5 separate regions of the Homo sapiens genome follow, and regions 2, 3, 4 and 5 are each linked to region 1. The links are contacts of gene promoters, found by promoter capture Hi-C in blood cells and fetal thymus (Javierre and others, 2016). All regions are on one chromosome and are shown on one strand. The core of a region is centred on a gene start or on the middle of the fragment in contact, and the rest is flanking DNA. Distances in the headings are between cores, read along the strand shown.

Region 1 (2,703 bases), core at 45-2,544:
CAACCCCTTTCCCTTCCCTCTCTTTCTGCCAGAGAGGGCAGAGAGCCCAGCCAGGGGCCCCCTTCCATCCACTGCCCATGTATAAGGTATATGTGGGAAAGGCAAGTAATACACTCATTTTACAATGAAGGGGAATCACAGGTTTTCTGAGAAGTGGAAGAGGAAGATGCTCAGGTGGGCAGTGCTTTGTGGATGTGGGTAAAAACCCGGTGACTCAGGTCATCTCCCGGGAGTGTGTGTCACTTCCTGTCTCTGGACCGCAATTCCTCAGTGAAGCTGGGGGGGATTCTGGCCCTGCTGTCCTGAGGCTGCATGGCTACCTGCCTCGCCTGCTCCCACACCACTGCCCCCGTACCCAGCTCTGCCCAGCAACTTCATCTGGCCCTTGAGACTCACGGGAGCTGCAGTGGGCCCCAAAGAATCCAGGCTTGCATCGACAGAGGCCCGGCTTCACACACACCTCGTCTTTCTGGCAGGCGTCCGGCCCCTCACAGATGGCTGAAAGACACCCCACCCAGGTTGGAAAGACGGGAGCAGGACCAGGGGACACCCCTGCCCTCTCACTGGCTCCAGGGGCCATGCCTCCTCAAGAGGTGCCCCTTCAGGCCTGGGGGTGCGTCACAGGAGAAACCCTGACTCCTGGTATCAGGAGGGGCAGGCCCCATGGGGTAGGAAGGAAGGGTTGTCACTGGGCTACGGCCTCCCTTCTCCTTGGCTGAGGGTCTGTCCTGGCTACTCACGGATGGTGCATTCTTGATCCTTCTGCCTCCAGCCTGCGCAGCACTGCAGCTCAGCAGAGGGGCTGTGGGGCAAAAAGGGGTCAGCCGGACATGGTGGGGGGTGCAGCCTGGCCCTGAGGAAGGTGGATCACTGTCTCTGGCTGCAGTGGGGGAGGCTGCCTTAGCCCCCTGGGGAGGCCTAATGGATCTTTACAGCTAGGGTCCCCAGCCCCTCCCCTCTCCTTCCCTGACCCTTCCACCATCTGCCCTGGCTGGCCACTACCTGCCAGACCGCCATCAGCAGTCCCTTCCTTTCAGCCTAAGCCCCCTTCCTAGTCTCCTCCTTCCCCTAACGGCCTCAACACCGGTTCAGCCACCCGCATCAGACTCCCACGAGACCCACCTGCTGGCCACACGCATCAGACTCCCACGAGACCCACCTGCTGGCCACACAGACGTGCTGCCCTTTGGGGTCCAGCTCGGACCCCTGAGTCCCCCGAGTCCAGAGCAGCAGCAGCGGGAGCAGCAGCCCCAGCCCCATGGCAGGCAGCTCGGTGGGAGCGCTCGGGTTCGTCTGGCCCCCACAGCTCCCAACCCCCTCCCTGCTTCCTCTCAGGGCTTTTCCTGAGGAAACCAGGCCGGAGGGGCGGGCTGCCACGAGGCACCTCCCTGAGAGGGAGGGGGTGGCTGGAAAGACTGACACTCAAAAAAAGAAAGGGAAAGAAAGGCAATGGCAGGGCTGACTGGCCTGGGCCTGGAAGGGCCAGAAGAATGAAGTTGCAGGTCCCTGGGTGCCGGGGCCAGGGAAGGGGGTGGACTGAGGCTGGGAGCCACGGCTTTCCATCAGGCCACACTCCCAAAGCAAGGCCTGAGCTGCAAGAAGCCACCCCACCCAGTGACTGAGCAAGGAGACCAGCGAGGACCCCTCAGCCTGCCTCTGCTCCTGGCAGGGTTGGGAGGTGGCACAGACATGGACAGACAGGCGAGGAACAGTTTCTGTGTATTACGGGCAGTTCTTTATTACATGAGCTCAGGCCGTCTGCACAAAGCCCTGGGAGCTAGGCAGTCAGCTCTCATTTCATGGATGGGGAAACTGAGACTCAGAGAGGCACTCTTATATCTGGCCCCAGAGGCTCGGTACAGAGACGTAGAGAGGGAGGCGGGCTGAGACCCCGTCCTGCCCTGATGCAGGCCAGGATTGGGGCAGACCCCTGGCGAGGGCTGTGAAGGCGGGAGCCCTGTCCTCATTTGAGGCCACACATCCTTCCACAGCCAGACCCCTAAGTCAGGCCTCTGGGGCGGCTGAGGCCCCCAGACAAAGGTGTTCGTGGAGGGCAGAACAGGGCGGATCAGGAGCTGGAGACTGTGGTTGGGCCTCCTCTTCTCCCCCTAGCTTGCTGGGTGCAGGGCTGCTGGTCTCATCCTCAGAGGATTCAGCTTTACCCCGATACCATAGGCCAAAGCTGGAGAGAGACAGCCAGAGGCACTTTGAGCCAGGAAGCCAGAGAGGTCAAGGATATGGGTGAGGGCAGGGGATGGTGAGAAAAGGGGAGAGGGGGAAGAAAGGGCAGCCTGAGGGAGTGTGAAGGTGATGGGGGCCAGGGCCAGAGAAGCAGGAGGGGACGGTGTGCTTAGAGCCAAGCACAGCAGGGTGACGGGCAGAGAAGCGGGAAAGGGGATCCTGAGAAGGACCAGCCAGGGCCCTTCCTCCCTCCCCACACTCTTGCCTTTCCCCTTTCCCCAACATACAAACTCTGTATTTTGGACTCCGGGGGTGGGGGATGGTCTCCCTTGTCATCGGAGAGCAGGATCCATGGGCCAGCCTCATCCTCACTGAGACAGAGGAGAGAGGAGAAGTGAGGGCCATTGATCAAGGCCCTGAGGGACAACAGGAATCCAGCAGGGGGGATGGAGGGACTGCAGGGCCCCCGGGGCTGGAGAGAAGGCAACCCTGGGGAGATGCAGGATGTCGAGCCTTTAATTT
Region 2 (2,703 bases), core at 161-2,660, 140 kb after region 1:
CATCAGCGTGCTGTTCTTTCCTTTTAACCTTCAAAGTAGAACAGGGGATTTAAAACAAAAAACAAACAACAGCAGCAAAAAAGCAGGGTTTCTCGACCCTGACACTATTGACACTGTTGCTGGCTCCTTCTTTGCTGGGGTTGGTGGGGGGGGCACTGTCTTGTACCCGGGAGGATGCTTAGCAGCACCTCTGGCCTCTTTCGAATAGATGCCAGCAGCACCCCCCTTCCAAGTCATGACAATCCAAAATGTCTCCAGAGATCGCTTGAGCCCAGGAGTTGCAGGAAGCAGTGAGCTGTGACCGAGCCACTGTACTCCAGCCTGGGCAAGACAGCAAGACCCCTTCTCAAAAAAAAAAAAAAAAAAGTCTCCAGGCAATGCCACATGTTGTCTGGGGGTAAAATCAGCCCTGGTTCAAGCAAACGCTTTAAAAGGAAGAGGATGCAGAGTAGGGAGAAGGCAGAGAGCCTGGAGCTGAGAGTGCTGGGAATGAGACAGCCAAAGGGGCTGTGACGAACCAGAGAACAACCAGAAGGAGAGCTATACTGGAGGGTGGGTGGGGCTGCCTGGCCAAGTTCTCTCTGGGAAACTCACTTGAGATCTAAAAGCTTTCCCCATATCTCCCAGGAGGAAATTCTTTTTTTTTTTTTTTTTGAGATGGAGTCTCGCTCTGTCGCCCAGGCTACAGTGCAGTGGCGCGATCTTGGCTCACTGCAAGCTCCGCCTCCCAGGAGGAAATTCTAAAGCGTTATGTTTGTTAGCAAAACAGAAGGCAAAGATCTCTCCTAAAGAGGAAATAAAGAAGTTTCAACATGCTTTTAAAAACACCATAGAAAAAAAGTAATACCCAGAAGAGCCTAGGAAAGGAACAGTGTGTGCCCTGTGAAGTGGGAAAGGGACTCACCCGTTGAAAAAGATCTGGGCCAATTTGAAGAGCTCATGGCCCATTTCAACACTGGACGGCCCGTGGCGAACCTCCACCACGTAGAGACTCCTCTGTAGATGGGTGGCTGACTTTTGCCAGTCTCCTGTGAGAAGAGAAAAATCTTGTTCCAGAAAAGAACCACTGTCAACTGTGGATGCATATTTTCAGGGGGAGGAAATGGAACGAGAGGGGGAGCACCCTCAGTTTACAGAGCGGGGGGTAACCAGGCAGACAAGGCCGGGGCCACGGCGAAGTGCCCACAGCAGACTGTTCCCGACGCAGAACGTGAAGGCTCATGCTGTACCTAAGGCAGCACAGGCCCGGGCCAGGCCATCCGCGATCTCTCCCACCACGGCGTGCTCTGCCCACAGGAAGCTCTCGGCGTCACGCTGGCACCCCGACAGCCGCTGAACAGCTCGCTCTGTCAATGCAGAGGAAAGACGTCTCACTATAGACAGAAGCCCAGTCCTAGGAATGAGAATCCAGGTCTCAAATCCTCTGAATCAGCTGGGCTGAATGTGGAAATTCCCCCTGGCCTCCCTGGGTTGTCACCAACGCACAATGTCTGTTCCAATAAAGCTGCTGTTTTCTTCTGTTTTCTCTGTCAGTGGAGAAAGGCGCTAGGGGAGGCCTCCCCACATTTACACTGTATTTTCAACATTAACTTCCCAACTCGACCAACTCTACCTTTCACGTACGGCCATGATTTCTCTTGACCCTGAAATCTAAGCTAAAGGTCAACTTTCATAAAGCAGGGTAAATAAAAATCCCATGATGTCAAGCTCTAAGGCAGGGTTTTCAAGGGCAATGGGGAGCTCCGCAAGTCTCAGACAAAAGCAAGACACTCCTATCAGCTGGGCTCACGCCCCACTGCTCTCTAGCAGAGACTAGCTCTGAGGAGGGAAGAACCGCCCTTCTAGGAAGTTACATCACTAGGCCCTGGAATTAAAATAAATGACACTCAACTTCTGGAACTGCACACAGCTCACGGATGTCAGCGATGACCCGTTAGTTGGCAGGGGTACTTCAACTTAGCAATCAGATGCAGAAGAAAACAACAGCTGAAATCACCTGGCCCCTTTTCAAGGGCCCCACAGTAACAAAGCTGGTCAGGGTTTGGACTCACTGGCCTATATAGCCATCTTGTGGCTGGCATGGGGATAATTACATCCAATTCTCCCATCAGTACTGAGTATCCCTGAGTCCAAAACGGTATCAGAACAAATAAAAGGGAAGGGGCTGGAGGACCAAAGCAGGGAGCCAGTCTCACCTAGTTCACCATCTCTGAGAAGCTTCTGGGCCACTCTGACCTGCTGCTGTAGGTCCTGTAACCGAGAGACCAGGTGGTCCCTGCTGACGGCGGATTCTGCACAAGATCTGCTGCCACAGCGCAGCACGTCATCTCCCTGTGGAAGTCAGTTTTCTCTTTATTCCAATGCCAGGGTCAGTTATCAACACCGCCTGTGCTTACATTACAGGACTGCTCCATAGTTTCTTACCTCATGGGGGAAAGAGACTCCTGTAACAATACATCGTGACGAAAGTCTGAGCGAATTTTGTTTGATGGCGGCAATGGCGGCAATTCTAATGAAGTGTATCAGCAGTAGCTGATCCCACCTGAGATTTCATTTTTGGAACAGAACTGGTACAGTGCACAATTTCTTTCCACTTCTATAGCCCCTCTTGTCGCTTTTTGGGGCCAGGACTTTAGATGACAAACATTTCTTTTTTTTGAGATGGAGTCTCGCTCGGTCTCCAGGCTGGAGTGCAGTGGTGCG
Region 3 (2,700 bases), core at 83-2,582, 240 kb after region 1:
AAAAGCTTTCTCCATAGCCGGCGATGCTGTTTGACAGCATTTTACCCACAGGAGAACTTTTTCAAACTGGAGTCTCTCCCTCTCAGGTCCTGTCACTGCTTTATCAGCCAAGCTTATGCAAATTCTAAATCCTTTGTCGTCATTTCAACAATGCTCACAGCGTTCTCACCACAAGAGATTTCATCTCAAGAAAGCACTTTCCTTGCCCATCGTAAGGAGCAGCTCCTTATCCGTTCAAGTTTGATCGTGAGATTACAGCAGTTCAGGCCCATTTTCAGGCTCCATTTGTAATTCTAGTTCTCTCGTTATTTTCGTCACATCTACAGATCCCTCCTCCACCAAAGTCTTGAAGCCTCAGTGTCTACCTTGAGGGTTGGAATCAACTTGTTCCAAACTCCCGTTGATGTTGGGATTTTGATCTCCTCCCATGAATCATGAATGTTCCTTTTTTTTTTAACTTGAGACAGGGTCTCATTCTGTCACTCAGGCTGGAGTGCACTGGCTTGATCACAGCTCACTGCAGTCTCAACCTCCCCAGGCTCCCAAGCTGGGACTACAGGTGCTGCCACACCTGGCTAATTGTATTTTTTGTAGAGACTGAGTTGTGTCATGTTGCCCAGGCTGCTCTCAAACTCCTGGGCTCAAGGGATCTCCCTGCCTCAACCTCTCAAAGTGCCAGGAGTTACAGGTGTGAGCGACTGTGCCCAGCCAACTGTTCTTAATAGCATCTAGAATGGTGAATCCTTTTCAGGTTTTCAATTTACTTTCCCCAGATCCATCAGAGGAATCACTGTGGCAACTATCGCCTCATGAAATATGTCTCTTAGACTTAAAAAGTCAAAATTACTCCTTGATTTGCATGGGCTGCAGAATAGATGTTGTTATCAAGCATGAAAACAATATTAATCTCCTTGTTCTGTGCATCTCCATTGAGCCCTCGGGTGAACAGGTGCATTGTCAATATATTAATCTCCTTGTACTGTGTGTCTCCATTGAGCCCTTGGGTGAACAGGTGCATTGTCAATATATTAATCTCCTTGTACTGTGTGTCTCCATTGAGCTCTTGTGTGAACAGGTGCATTGTCAATATATTAATCTCCTCGTACTGTGTGTCTCCATTGAGCTCTCGGGTGAACAGGTGCATTGTCAATGAGCAGTCATATTTTTAAAGGAGTCTCTTTTTCTGAGTAGTAGGTCTCAACAGTGGGCTTAAAATATTCAATAAACTACACTATAAATAGATATGCTGTCATCCAAGCTTTGATATTCTATTTATAAAGCAGAGGCAAAGTAGATTTAGCATAGTTCTTATGAGCCCTAAGATTTTTGACATGGTCAATGAGCACTGGCTTCACCTTATAGTCCCCAGCTGCATTCGCGCCTAACAGGAGAGTCAGCCTTTCCTTTGAAGCTTTGAAGCCAGGCATTGATTTCTACTCTCTAGGACGAATGTTCTTGATGGCATCTTCTTCCAGAAGGCTATTCTGTCTACGTTGAAAATCTGTTGTTGAGTGCAGCCACCTTCATTGGTGGTCCTAGCTAGATCTTCTGGATAACTTGCTGCAGCTTCTCCATCAGCACTTGCTGCTTCACCTTGCACTTTTGTTATGGTGACGGCTTATTTCCTTAAACCTCATGAACCAACATCTGCTGGCTGCCATCTTTTCTTCTGCAGCTTTTTTTTTTTTTTTTTTTGAGACAGAGTCTCACTCTGTCACCCAGGCTGGAGTGCAGTGGTGCAATCACAGCTCACCTCAGCCTCTGGAGTAGCTGGGACTACAGGTGCACACCACCGTGCCCTGACAGATTTTTGTAGAGACTAGGTCTCACTATGTTGCCTGGCTGGTATCGAACTCCTTGGCTTAGGCAATCATGTTGCCTCTGCCTCCCAAAGTGCTGGGATTACAGGTGTGAGCCACTGCACCTGGCCTCTTCTGCAGCTTCCTGACCTCTCTCAGCCTTCACAGAATTGAAGAAAGGTGAGGCCTTGCTCTGGGTTAGGCTTTGGCTTAAGAGAATGTTGTGGCTTGCTTGATATTCTATCTAGACCACTACAGCTTACTCCATATCAGCAGTAAGGCTGTTTGCTTTCTTATTTGTGTATTCAAAGAAGAGAGACAGGAATACTTGATTGGAGGATCAGTCAGCATACATACAACATTCATCAATATAAGTTCCCCATCTTATATGGGTGTAGTTGGTGGCACCCCAGAACAACTACAATAGTGACGTTAAAGATCACTGTAGGCCAGGCGCGGTGGCTCATTCCTGTAATCCCAGCACTTTGGGAGGCTGAGGCAGGCGGATCACCTGAAGTCAGGAGATCGAGACCATCCTGACCAACGTGGTTAAAACCCCGTCTCTACTAAAAATACAAAAATTAGCTGGGCGTAGTGGTGCATGCCTGTAGTCCCAGCTTCTCGGGAGGCTGAGGCAGGAGAATCGTTTGACCCTGGGAGGCGGAGATTTCAGTGAGCTGAGATCATGCCACTGCACTCCAGCCTGGTGACAGAGCGAGACTCCGTCTCAGAAAAAAAAAAAAAATCACCATAACAGATATGATAATAATGAAAAAGGGCCAGGCATGGTGGCTTACTCCTATAATCCTAGCACTTCGGGAGGCCAAGGTGGGTGGATCACTTGAGGTTTGGAGTTCGAGACCAGCCTACCCAACATGGCAAAACCCCATCTCTACTAAAA
Region 4 (2,700 bases), core at 95-2,594, 250 kb before region 1:
CTACATAAACCCATTTATTTAAAACGGAAAAAAAGAAAGCAACAGGATCTTCAACCTTCATAACTCAAAAAACCCAGCCTCAGCCGAGCGCCTGGAATAGGTTAAGATCCCCCACGAAGTACAGACCAGCATTCCGAGCCTGCAGAGTCAACCAAAATACAGTTACTGAACACTATTGGAAATAACTTTATTTCAACAGGTCTTCCCATTTGTCATCACGGTGCGCACAAACTGTAAAGTCATCGTTTTTACAAACGGGGGGACGGAGGCTCGGGCTCTACAAAGGCTCGAACTCTCAGAGTCGTGGCCTCCTGGTTCTATCCATCAGAACCCACGGGTGATGGAGCCAGAGAAAGGTTACAGGAACTTCGAGATCTCCTGTTTTAAGTCTGAGGAAAGGGAGGGAGTGAGGATTTTCTGGGCCTCCCCAGAAGACGACGAGGAGGAAAAGCCCCGAAACCCCTCACTACGAGGTGCCGGCCTACGGGAAAGAAACCCGATCGCAGCATGGGAGCCTGCCACCGCCCGAAGACGAACTGCAGTGATTCCCACTCACCCCTCTCCCCCCACCATCATCCACGACTGTCCCCCACCTCAGGCCTGAGGAAGCCCATCGCTCTCAAAGGTCCTCCTTTGTGAGACTCCACGGCCGCCGCCCCACACGGGGCCTCCGGGGAAAAGCCACCGCCCCCACCCGCCATATTTCCCTGAAAGGCGCCCGCGCTACAGCTCCCGGTCTTCGCTCTCTCCCATGTGGCGGGTGCTGCTTCCCCCGTCACCCCACCCAATTGTTCTCCACATCCCAAGGCCGTCCCAGAAGCTCCCATGAGGGTGGCTCGTTCGGAGACAGCACCCGCCATCTCCTCCCCCTCCCCCGCCCCGGGACTCGCCCTCCCCCCAGCCGCCATTTTACAACCAACTCCTCCACCCCGTCGCCCCGGCCTCCCGGCCCGCGAGTTGTTTGCAGTTAAGGACGGCGAAGGGGTCACATTCCAGGGCATAGAGCCTCCCATCGCCCCGGGAGCTCCCAGGCCATTTCCTGCTTCCCGAACCCAAGCCCCCGGGCCAGGCTCGCAGACGATGCCGCCATTTTGTCTCCTGTTCCCGGCCTCTGTGGGCGGCGGCAGAGGGTCCGAGAATTCCAGCCCCCCGTTGCCCCCCCAACTCACCGTCGTATCGCTCAGCCTGCTCGGCCAGCTTCGCCTGGTACACCAGATCCTCTCGATCATCCATAGCGGCAGCGGCTCCGGCAGGGTCTGCGCGACGGATGGAAGCGGATAGTGTCTCCGACTCTCTCAGCCTCTCGCTCCGCGTCCGGGCAGCAAAAATGGCGGCGCCTCAATCCGGGACTTCCGCCTGCGCACGCGGACAACTGCTCAGCTCTATGGCAACCGCTCCCTGGCAACTGGCGCGGGGGGCGGGTCCTGGAACTCGGCGCCCGAAGCGGCTGGAACGAGCGCACGAGACGCCTCTCCTCTGTCGGCTCAGCGGGCGCCGGAGCCCAGAGGCGGGAACTGCGACTGCCGAAAGGGAGCGGCCCCCGGGGAACGAGAAGGGCTGAGGCGGGGCCGGCCGGGACTGCTCCTGAAAAAAGCCAGCGAGAGACCTGGGTCAGACCGGGGCCCGAGGCCCGACCTGCGGAAAAGAACGACGGAGGCTGTAACGGTTTCTGTCATGGCAGGTCTTCTTTCCCGAAATCTGAGGCTGTCACTACCGCGCCCTGGTTTTCTTTTCTTTTTTCTTTTTTCTTTTTTCTTTTTGAGACGGAGTTTCCCTCTTGTTCCCCAGGCTGGAGTGCAGTGGTGCGATCTCGGGTTACCACAACGTCCGCCTTCCCGGGTTCAAGTGATTCTGCTGCCTCAGCCTCTCGAGTAGCTGGGATTTCAGGCCCCCGCCACCACCCCCAGCTTTTGTATTTTTAATAGAGATGGGGTTTCACCATGTTGGCCAGGCTGGTCTCGAACTCCCGACCTCAGATGATCCGCCCCCCCTCGGCCTCCCAAAGCGCTGGGATTCCAGGGGTGAGCCACCGCGCCCAGCCCACGTCCTAGTTTTCTCGGCCAAGCCTGGTCATGGGCCTTTTTCAGACACTTTTAGACTCAGGGTAACGAACCGGGCCCTGGCCGGGCGCGGCGGCTCATGCCTGTCATCCCAGCACTTTGGGAGGCCAAGGCGGGAGGATCACAAGGTCAGGAGTTCGAGACCAGCCTGGCCAATATAGTGAAACCCCGTCTCTACTAAAAATACAAAAAATTAGCTTGGCATGGTGGTGCATGCCTGTCATCCCAGCTACTCAGGAGGCTGAGGCAGGAGAATCTCTTGAACCCGGGAGGCGGAGGTTACAGTGAGCCGAGATCCTCCCATTGCACTCCAGCCCAGGCGACAGTGTGAGACTGTGTTTCAAAAGAAAAATTATATATATATACAAAAATTAGCTGGGCGTGGTGGTGCATGCCTGTAATCCCAGCTACTCCAGAGGCTGAGGCAGGAGAATCGCTTGAACCCGGGAGTGGGAGGGTGCAGTGAACCGAGAGCACACCATTGCACTCCAGCCTGGGCAACAAGAGCACAACTCTGTCTCAAAACAAAGAAAAAGAAAAAAAACGAACTGGGCCCTGTTACAGTTGTCAGGGACAGGGGAGCTCCAGTTTTCACGCCTCAACTTTCCCCTCACACTGATCTTTGTCTTCTCCTGTTTAA
Region 5 (2,758 bases), core at 128-2,627, 220 kb after region 1:
GTCTCTCTGCAGTTCTATTAGTTTTTGCTTCATGTATTTCAAAGCTGTATTATTAAATATCTATATAATTTAGAATTCTTGTGTCCACTTGATGAGTTGACTCTTATTATTATGAAATGATTTTATCCCTGGGAAATTCTGTGCTTTGAAGTCTGCTTTGATATTAGCATAGCCACTTTGGCGTTTTTTTTGTTTTGTTTTGTTTTTTCTCTCCTAGAGACAACATCTTGCTCTGTTGCCCAGGCTGGAGTACAGTGGTACATTCACGGCTCAGTGCAGCCTCAACACCTTGGGCTCAAGCAATCCTCCCACCTCCGCCTCCTGAGTAGCTGGGACTACAGGCATGTGCCACCACGCCCAGCTAATTTTATTTTGTTTTTTATTTATTTATTTATTTTTGAGACGAAGTCTCACTCTGTTGCCAGGCTGGAGTGCAGTGGCGTGATCTCGGCTCACTGCAACCTCCGCCTCCCAGGTTCAAGCGATTCTCCTGCCTCAGCCTCCTGAGTAGCTAGGGCTACAGGCACGCATCACCATGCTCAGCTGATTTTTGTATTTTTAGTAGAGATAGGGTTTCACCATGTTGGCCAGGATGGTCTCCATCTCTTGACGTCATGATCTGCCCGCCTCAGCCTCCCAAAGTGCTGGGGTTAAAGGCGTGAGCCACCATAATTGGCCTAATTTTATTTTTTGTGGACATGGAGTCCTGCCATGTTGCCCACACTGGTCTTGAATTCCTGGCCTCCAGCAATCCTCCTGCCTCAGCCTCCCAAGTAGTTGGGACTGCAGGCTGCACCTGTAGTCTGGGAGGTGGAGTGCCGGGCCTGCCTGTGGACTGCCTGGACTGGGGCTGGGACGGCAGTGCCACCACGCCCGGCTCATTTCTTTTCTTTTTATTTGTAGGGGCGGGGTCTCACTTTGTTGCCCAGGCTGGTCTCAAACTCCTGGCCTCAATCCTCCTGCCTTAGCCTCTCAAAAGGCTGAATTACAGGCATAAGCTACTGTGCCTGGCCATTGTGTATACTTTCTATTGCTAGCCGTTCAAGTTCACTAATGGTTTCTCAGGCAGTGCCTAATCTGCTGTTAATCCCATTGAGTGTATTTTTCTTCTCAGATAGTATAGTTTTTATCCCTAGAAGCTTGATTTTGGGTCTTTAAAAACTCATCTACATCTCTGCTTAATTTTTGGGACATACAGAGCACAATGACAGTATTTGTTGTAAGGTCCTTGTCTGTGGATTCTGGTGTCTGTGTTAGGTCCGGATTTGTTTCCGTCAGTTGATCCCGGCCTCTCCGATCATGGATCATATTTTCCTGCTGCTTTTCATGCCTGGCCCTCGGACCGAATGCCAGACATTGGGATTCGTACCTCGTTGGGTGCTAGAAACTTTTGTAATCCTGTAATTATTCTTGAGCTTTTTTCAGGGATACAGTTAACTTGGAGACAGTTTGATCTTTTGGTGTGTTGCTTTTAAGATTTATTAGAGAATCAGAGAGCTGCATTTAGTCTAGGTGTAGTTATTCCCAATACTGAATCGAGACCTGACAGACTGTTCTACCTCGTGCCCCATGAATATGAATTTTTCCCATCTGACTGGTAGAAACAGGTACTATTTCAAGCTTGCTGTAAACACAGGCATGGTTCCCTCTGGCCTTCTCAGATGATTCTCACCCTGGCCTCAGATCGTGTCCACACACACACACGGGCCAACCAGGACTCTGCTGACTACCCAGGAAACCTGCCACCCATTTCTGGAGTTCTCTGTGTACAGCCCTCTCTTCTCTGCTACTCTGTCCGGCCAGCTAGACGGCGATCTCCCCAGACTCTCGGCCCCCATTTCTGCACCTCGGGTTCTGGCAGGCCCCCTAAGCCCTTGAGGCACTGAGCTGGTGCAGACCCACTCGCTCGCTTTCCTGTGCACAGCAGGCGCTACCCCTCATTGAAAACCATGCGTCTCACGTATTTTCTCCCTTTCTGGTGGGGGGAGGGGGTTATGTTAGGTGTTAGGGTGAACCTGGTCTCTGTTGCTCCATTTGTCCGGTACGTAGTTTTAAAAGTTGAATATTTTTGCGAGGTGTGTCCTTAAAAACAAAACAGCATTCTCCTGCCTCACTTTTCTTTGGCCTCTGACTCCTGTCTAGAGACAGTCTGTTTCAAATCTCACAGCTGTTTCTTCTCTGTTTGTCTCCATATTTCTAAATAACACATTTGTGCTGCTCTTCGTTAATTTTTTCAGTTGAAACATTTGTTTATTAACTTCACGCTATGGGAGATTAGAATGTGGTGCTCTCTCTTTTTTTTTTTTCTTTTTTAAGAGTCTCACACTGTCACCCAGGCTGGAGTCCAGTGGCGTGATCTTGGCTCACTGCAACCTCCGCCTCCTGGACTCAAGCAATCCTCCTTGCCTCAGCCTCCTCAGTAGCTGGGATTACAGGCGTGCACCACTGCACCCTGCTAATTTTTGTTTTTATTTTTTTATTTTTTGAGACGGAGTCTCACTGTGTCGCCCAGGCTGGAGTGCAGTGGCGCGGTCTCGGTTGACTGCAAGCTCCACCTCCCGGATTCACGCCATTCTCCTGCTTGAGTAGCTGGGACTACAGGCACCCACCACCATGCCCGGGTGATTTTTTTTGTATTTTCAGTAGAGACGGGGTTTCACTGTGTTAGCCAGGATGGTCTCCATCTCCTGACCTCGTGATCTGCCCGCCTCAGCCTCCCAAAGTGCTGGGATTACAGGCGTGAGCCACCGCCCCCAAC

What was found. Contacts are between HindIII fragments. The CHiCAGO score rates a contact against its expected background, and 5 or more counts as called.
Region 2: a contact is called between a fragment that was not itself captured here and the fragment with the promoter of SCARF1 in region 1, in 1 of 17 cell types (M1 macrophages). The highest score is 5.5, in M1 macrophages.
Region 3: a fragment that was not itself captured here is called in contact with the fragment with the promoter of SCARF1 in region 1 in 1 of 17 cell types (erythroblasts); the score reaches 5.1 in erythroblasts.
Region 4: a contact is called between the fragment with the promoter of YWHAE here and the fragment with the promoter of SCARF1 in region 1, in 1 of 17 cell types (neutrophils). The highest score is 5.7, in neutrophils.
Region 5: a contact is called between a fragment that was not itself captured here and the fragment with the promoter of SCARF1 in region 1, in 4 of 17 cell types (M1 macrophages, M0 macrophages, megakaryocytes and 1 more). The highest score is 8.3, in M1 macrophages.

The regions. Positions count from the first base shown.
Region 1 is chr17:1,644,438-1,647,140 of GRCh38, forward strand. It overlaps SCARF1 (scavenger receptor class F member 1), which reads right to left and starts at 1,295. Exons shown (of 11, transcript NM_003693.4): 1 at 1,160-1,295; 2 at 741-802; 3 at 397-498. The coding sequence starts at 1,260. RILP (Rab interacting lysosomal protein) reads right to left here. Exons shown (of 8, transcript NM_031430.3): 7 at 2,469-2,552; 8 at 1,713-2,182. The coding sequence ends at 2,005. The HindIII fragment of the contact is 11,256 bases long and covers 1-2,703 here.
Region 2 is chr17:1,782,131-1,784,833 of GRCh38, forward strand. SMYD4 (SET and MYND domain containing 4) reads right to left here. Exons shown (of 11, transcript NM_052928.3): 8 at 2,196-2,331; 9 at 1,230-1,346; 10 at 905-1,028. Among named protein-coding and RNA genes, the nearest start is that of SERPINF1, 21 kb to the left of the region's middle. RefSeq lists an enhancer at 1,725-2,019. The HindIII fragment of the contact is 1,609 bases long and covers 607-2,215 here.
Region 3 is chr17:1,885,030-1,887,729 of GRCh38, forward strand. All of the region lies in intron 13 of RPA1 (replication protein A1), which reads left to right. Among named protein-coding and RNA genes, the nearest start is that of RPA1, 56 kb to the left of the region's middle. The HindIII fragment of the contact is 153 bases long and covers 1,257-1,409 here.
Region 4 is chr17:1,398,878-1,401,577 of GRCh38, forward strand. It overlaps YWHAE (tyrosine 3-monooxygenase/tryptophan 5-monooxygenase activation protein epsilon), which reads right to left and starts at 1,345. Exons shown (of 6, transcript NM_006761.5): 1 at 1,170-1,345. The coding sequence starts at 1,233. RefSeq lists enhancers at 1-567, 568-1,205, 1,206-1,843. The HindIII fragment of the contact is 7,246 bases long and covers 1-2,700 here.
Region 5 is chr17:1,859,433-1,862,190 of GRCh38, forward strand. All of the region lies in intron 5 of RPA1 (replication protein A1), which reads left to right. Among named protein-coding and RNA genes, the nearest start is that of RPA1, 31 kb to the left of the region's middle. The HindIII fragment of the contact is 481 bases long and covers 1,138-1,618 here.